Linked DNA regions of Homo sapiens: region 1 is linked to region 2. Evidence: promoter capture Hi-C in 16 types of primary human blood cells and fetal thymus (Javierre and others, 2016). All regions are on one chromosome and are shown on one strand. The core of a region is centred on a gene start or on the middle of the fragment in contact, and the rest is flanking DNA. Distances in the headings are between cores, read along the strand shown.

Evidence for each region. Contacts are between HindIII fragments. The CHiCAGO score rates a contact against its expected background, and 5 or more counts as called.
Region 1: a contact is called between a fragment that was not itself captured here and the fragment with the promoter of MKRN3 in region 2, in 1 of 17 cell types (endothelial precursors). The highest score is 7.9, in endothelial precursors.

The regions. Positions count from the first base shown.
Region 1 is chr15:26,879,268-26,882,828 of GRCh38, forward strand. It overlaps GABRA5 (gamma-aminobutyric acid type A receptor subunit alpha5), which reads left to right. Exons shown (of 11, transcript NM_000810.4): 4 at 1,579-1,700. Among named protein-coding and RNA genes, the nearest start is that of GABRA5, 14 kb to the left of the region's middle. The HindIII fragment of the contact is 186 bases long and covers 1,577-1,762 here.
Region 2 is chr15:23,564,398-23,567,730 of GRCh38, forward strand. MKRN3 (makorin ring finger protein 3) reads left to right here and starts at 1,277. Exons shown (of 1, transcript NM_005664.4): 1 at 1,277-3,333. The coding sequence starts at 1,386. The coding sequence ends at 2,909. The HindIII fragment of the contact is 4,614 bases long and covers 818-3,333 here.

The DNA.
Region 1 (3,561 bases), core at 420-2,919, 3.3 Mb after region 2:
AGATCTGGTTTGACCAATAGTTACACAACTGGGCAGGTACAAAATATAACCTTCTTTTTTCCCCCTGCAAAACTCTGAAGAAGAAGGCTGTTCACTGGGAGGAGCTATGCTAGGCTTAGTGCTATGTCTTTCCGAAGTGTGCAACTACCATGGATGTTGGAGAAAGGGGAATTTAATGTTTTTAAATATGAAATCACAGAGTTAAAAAAGTATACATCTGTGGGCTCCGTACTAACAGGAGTGAATTTTAGCTTGTTAGAGCTTCAAGTATATGCATTTTTATGGTGATGTGAAACTTAGATCAAAAGAGCATTATTCCTTTATTCTTTATTCTCTCATTCTATTCAAAAGGGAATAGCTTTAGGGCCAGCAAAGAATTGATCTGTTAGATGCAATCAATAAAAATGACTGACTTTTAAGAACAGGGTGGAGCAGGCCTGCATCGATTCTGACCTCAGCATCTCTCCATGGCTGGTGGCTCTCAGCTCTGATTTCAGCCTTTTCATGGGAGAGAAAGCACTTTAAGCACAGCTAGGGCCCCACAGCTGGGCACTTCAGGGAAGTACCAGGAATCACATGTTCTTCTCCCAAGTGCCCAGGGCACTCGCTTCTTGGGAACCACAGCTGGCTTTCAGTTTGGTAAGTCCCCTTGAAGCCAAATTTGCAGTCAAGTGCTCAGTAATTCAAAACCAGTTGCTATTTGCACATCTGAAAGCAGCTGTAGAAACCTGAGGTGGGATCCATGCTCTTCAGCTGTGGGGCTGTCTTCTGGGCTTGTGGTCTCTCTGTCCCCCCAGATACCATCCTCAGTTTGTCTAGATCTGCTAGGGCAGTTTCTAGTTTTGTTCTGCTCATATTACATAAGCTTTTGGAATCTGGATAACTTGATTGAACAAACAAAAAATGTTCTTGTGTCTTCCCTGAGGGTCAGCCCACTTTTCTTGAGGGCTTATTGTGTGACGCTGGGTCCCACAGAATGTGTTGTGAGCTGGCACACTGAAGGGGCAGGACCCCAGAGATGACACAGACTCCATCATGTCTGTCACTCACTCTCCAATCCTGGCATATTATTCACAGCACAAATGCTCCCAGACCAACTAAGGATGCAGTGAGGTTTGGGAACAACAACCTCGGAAAGTTTCTCAGCGTCCCCTCCATGCCCCAGCGCCCAGTGCAGGTGACTCTAGCAATATGAGAACTCGGTTTTTGTGTGTTTAAACCAAACTTCTGAAATCCCCTGTGAGTGGATTAGGCTCTGCCAGTCCATGCGCAATGGCTAATTGGTTGTTAAAAATGGCTAAAATATTGACATAAACCAATTCCTTAGAATCACAGAATGATAGACTTTGAGCCTCAGGTTAGGTGGTTGGATAACTAGCCCCAAGCAGAGTATCCTTGGATGTTGGAGAACTGAGGTGTATCAAGGCCAAACAATCCCCTAGGCACTATGGGAGCTGTGTTCTCAGATCCTCGTCTCAGGAGACAAGCCTCCACGTGACTCCCTGGTTTCTGTATCTTGAGAAGAATTTGTAAGAAATAATATGTTTTAACGCTTCCTCTTGTTTCTCTTTTTAAAAGCTTTTCACAGATGCCAACCAGTTCAGTGAAAGATGAGACCAATGACAACATCACGATATTTACCAGGATCTTGGATGGGCTCTTGGATGGCTACGACAACAGACTTCGGCCCGGGCTGGGAGGTGAGTGTGCTCTCCTCAGCTGAGCCCAGCAAGGATCCAGGAAGGGCTTAAGTCTCGTCTCAAGCTTGTGTTTGCGCTGATTCAAACAATTCCTAAAAGAGCTTCCCTGCCAGGATTTTGGTATGATGGCTGTTCCACTCTTGCCAAGAATCATGCACCCTTTGTTATTGTCTAGACGCAAGATCCTTTGTTATTTTCTAGACGCAAGATCCTTTGTTATTTCTAGGTGGAAGAAGCTGGGGGAAGTGGTCTTCCCAAACATCTTTGCAAAATCCCCTCTTCCCAGATAATCTTAATGTCTAGTCTGGTTAACTTAAGGAGGAACCAGCTTTTAGGCGTTACTAAAGCTGAGATTACCCTATGTTAAGAAATAATATAAAATCAACCTCATAGTCTTGTATCTATGCGAGTCCTTTTCAGAAATCCACTGTGGAATGCAGTCATCCTTTATATCTTTATGGGTTATGCATTTAGTGCTTCACTATGGCCATAGTCCTAGTATTTACTTTGACTTTGTGGAATTCAATAAAAATGAACTGATGTAGATTGTTCTTGTAGGGCACACCTGGCACAGCTTCATTGTTGTGCTAAGAATTGTGTGCAGTTTCCAGGCATGTGCAATCCCCTTGGCTCTACAGTTTAGATGTGGAGTCTGAACTTGTTGGGTTAGGTGAGGTAGACACTTTCCAGTGAATACATTCTTGGAGGAAAAAATTTAGTTGTCTAGTGTTTGCATTTTTTTTTTATTTGAGATGGAGTTTCGCTCCTGTTGCCCAGGCAGGAGTGCAATGGCATGATCTCGGCTCACTGCAACCTCTGCCTCCCAGGTTTAAGTGATTCTCCTGCCTCAGCCTCCGGAGTAGCTGGGATTACAGGTGCACACCACCATGCCCAGCTAATTTTTGTGTTTTTAGTAGAGATGGGGTTTCACCATGTTGGCCAGGCTGGTCTTAAACTCCAGACCGCAGGCGATCCACCCACCTCGGCCTCCCAAAGTGCTGGGATTACAGGTGTGAGCCACAGTGCCCCGCCTAGTATTTGCATTTTTAACAGGGAGATCCACTTAAAGCATGAGTTGCCACTCTCTGCCTTTTGGGCACAGGCTCCTTAACAGTCTCTTACTCTGCCCTCTGAATTATGTTCCTAGGCCTGTGTGCCCAGCAGTCCAGTCCCTTGAACACACTCAGAAGGGTCAGAGCATCTAGAGGAGCCCTAAGCTGCTGTCAGTGCTTGTGGTATTCTCTCATCCTCTCTGCCTTCCAGTCCTACAGAGTAGGAGGATACCATGGAAAGCCTCCCGGGCCACCCTGCTGGGGCTGGCATCTCAGTGAGGAGACAGGCACACTGCATCATACAACACACAGCATCACACAGACACCTGCCCACGCACAGATGCACGCCATGCAGACGATCATCACACCGCGAGCTGCTGGAGAGGCAGGCCCACAGTGCGGCTGGAAGTTACCCGGTGTGGGCTGCAGTGCACTTTGAATTGCTTCCTACTCATGACCACGGGGACTTACAGGGCTGTGGTAGTGCCCAGGGAAGTACACAGGTTTTCCCCCAAATATTATTAGCCACTTTTATCACTTTACCTATTTCCAATAATTTTGTTTGAAATCACAGTCTCCCATGATAGGGCTTTCTATAATAACAGTTCGAAACGCTACATAAAGAGAAGTGGGTCTTCCTGTCTCAGGGCGCACTGGGCACATTCTCAACATCGTTTCCCGGAGACCACCCAGGACCTCCTGCTTTGATTGGAAAGTCAGCTCCCCTCATCCTGAATTGTCTGATGCTTTTTAAAGCCCCTCTCTGTGGCGACGGCGTGGCCCTGAGCTGCCAGGCTGGCATCATTGCT
Region 2 (3,333 bases), core at 27-2,526:
TTATTATTTGCTTCATTCTGCTTTCATTGCTTTTACCTACTTAATTATAATTTAATTTGTTGACTTGGGTGATTATAAATATTCAGATATGTTTCCACTTTACAGATTTAGGCAACAAAATTTCCTCAAAGAAACTTATAGAAAAAAAATCCAATAATATATAAAATGATATATCATGACAGAAGGGCTTCTTATTAGAAACAAATTGGTTAGTTAAATATTTGAAACTCATAGCTGCAAATAATCACATTAAGAGAATAAAGGGAAAAACAAAATTGTCTCAAAAAATGTATAAAACTACATAACAGAATTCAGTATGCAGTCATGATACGTACTCTCAGCAAAGTAGGAATACAAAAAAATGATTAATCTACTACATTTATCTGCAAAAATGACAAAACGCTCATACATGGAAATTAAAGACCATTCCTTTGTGGATAATATGGCACAGGATATGTTATGAAAGGCTGTCCTGCCACAACACAGCACAGATGGGGTTGAAAGAAAGGAAGGGAAACAAAGGGCTGCCATGAATTAAACCAGTAGAGAAAATAAAAGCCTGGGTCATGCAGGGGACAGTGTCTTATTAGGCCAGCATCAGGACTGGTTGAAGTCTGGCGCTTCTAACACAGTGGGAAAATGAGCATAGTAATCACAATAAAGAAAGACATCTGAAAGGTGCTAACTTAGCCTCGGATCAGAAGTGCTCTCTGCTAATGCCTTGCTGGTGAAAAGCGTATCCAGTGTAAGCCCTCAGAAATCCCAGAAAACAAAGACCAAAAGAAACGGCGCCTTGTCAACCGAACGAATTGAAAAAAGCTTCCTGCCGCGATCGGGCATTAAAAGAAAAAAACCACAGACATAAGATGGAGTGAATAAAAAAAGAATTTATATAATTCATGGATGAAATGTTTCAGAATCTATAGGATTATATTTTTTTTAAGGCAGACAGATACGAAAATACAACGAAGCGTGCATGACCGAAACCAGAAGAGATTAAAGTAAAACCTCATTCTCCTGAGGAAATCGTGTGAGAAGGGACTTAGGGACTGCCGGAACACAGCGAAGCAGAGGCAGAAGGCAGACAAAAGGGGCTGGGTTGGTCCCCGCCTGTGTGAACGAAAAAATATGTCAGATTGGAAAATTGCGGTAAAAACCAGGCAGAGCACGTACGTTGCCCCCACAGGAAGTGTCCGCCATGCTGCCTGTGCCCGGAAGTAGGTAGGAACACACAGTCAGAGGGACCCAAAAGCAGGGGGGAAGGAAAAAGAGATGCACACTTCCCCCAGAGAAGCCTCCGAGCGCGGCCGCCATTCCGGGCCTCAAGCCCATAAAGAAAAAATACCGGAGAGGTTCTGGCACCATTTCGGGGTGCCAAAGCAGCCATGGAAGAGCCTGCAGCTCCCTCAGAAGCCCACGAGGCAGCCGGGGCCCAGGCAGGTGCTGAGGCAGCAAGGGAGGGTGTGTCTGGGCCGGACCTTCCCGTCTGTGAGCCCTCCGGGGAATCTGCTGCTCCAGATTCAGCCCTGCCACATGCGGCAAGGGGCTGGGCCCCCTTCCCTGTAGCTCCAGTCCCTGCCCACCTCCGCAGAGGAGGCCTGAGGCCTGCCCCAGCCTCAGGAGGAGGAGCCTGGCCCAGTCCGTTGCCAAGCCGAAGCAGCGGCATTTGGACAAAGCAGATCATCTGCAGGTATTATATACATGGGCAGTGCAAGGAGGGGGAGAACTGTCGCTATTCGCACGACCTTTCTGGTCGGAAGATGGCCACTGAGGGTGGCGTTTCGCCGCCTGGGGCCTCTGCAGGTGGAGGCCCTAGCACGGCTGCGCACATCGAGCCCCCGACTCAGGAAGTGGCGGAAGCCCCCCCGGCTGCATCCTCCCTTTCCTTGCCTGTGATTGGCTCGGCTGCTGAAAGGGGTTTCTTTGAAGCCGAGAGAGACAATGCAGACCGTGGAGCTGCTGGAGGAGCAGGTGTAGAAAGCTGGGCGGATGCCATTGAGTTTGTTCCAGGGCAGCCCTACCGGGGCCGCTGGGTTGCATCTGCCCCCGAGGCTCCTCTACAGAGCTCAGAGACTGAGAGGAAGCAGATGGCTGTGGGCAGTGGGTTGCGGTTTTGCTATTATGCTTCCAGGGGAGTTTGCTTTCGTGGGGAGAGCTGTATGTACCTCCATGGAGACATATGCGACATGTGTGGGCTGCAGACCTTGCACCCCATGGATGCTGCCCAGAGGGAAGAACATATGAGGGCCTGCATTGAAGCACACGAGAAAGATATGGAACTCTCGTTTGCTGTGCAGCGTGGTATGGACAAGGTGTGTGGCATCTGCATGGAGGTTGTCTATGAGAAGGCCAACCCCAATGACCGCCGCTTTGGCATTCTTTCCAATTGCAACCATTCCTTCTGTATTAGGTGTATCCGCAGGTGGAGAAGTGCCAGACAGTTTGAGAACAGGATCGTCAAGTCTTGCCCACAGTGCAGGGTCACCTCTGAATTGGTCATTCCCAGTGAGTTCTGGGTGGAGGAGGAGGAAGAGAAGCAGAAACTTATTCAGCAATACAAGGAGGCAATGAGCAACAAGGCCTGCAGGTATTTTGCGGAAGGCAGGGGTAACTGCCCATTTGGAGACACATGCTTTTACAAGCATGAATACCCTGAGGGCTGGGGAGATGAGCCTCCTGGGCCAGGTGGTGGGTCATTCAGCGCATACTGGCATCAACTTGTGGAGCCTGTGCGAATGGGAGAGGGCAACATGCTCTATAAAAGCATTAAGAAGGAGCTTGTCGTGCTTCGGCTGGCCAGTCTGTTGTTTAAGCGGTTTCTTTCACTGAGAGATGAGTTACCCTTCTCTGAGGACCAGTGGGACTTGCTTCATTATGAGCTGGAAGAATATTTCAATTTGATTCTGTAGCATCGTGCTGTGGCATGTGGTCTAGTCTGCTGAGGTTCTGTCGTCTGCTATTGCCTGTTTTCCCTGTGTTGACACTCTTACTGCTTTCAGGGGCTGTTGAGGCAGTGCTTCTGTTTTCTTGTCTATTCTGCATATCTTTCCCCCTAGGATTATGGTGATTATCTGTGTTAAAAAATAAGTCCTTAAAGTTACTGTTTTGGTGAAATTAATATTAATGTCAGCTTATGGCTTTTTTTTGTCATCTCTGTTGTCAACAGGATTAACTCAGTTCTAGTGTAGTGTTTACTGAATTTCCACACTTATTTTGAAGACCCTCAAGAGTAAATGTGGCAGAGTGAAAGGAGAAGTTTTAATTGAACTAGTAGCTTTGTGCTATAATAGCCTTAACAAATGGACCCTTGCAGGGCTTTGCAGCTGCTCATCT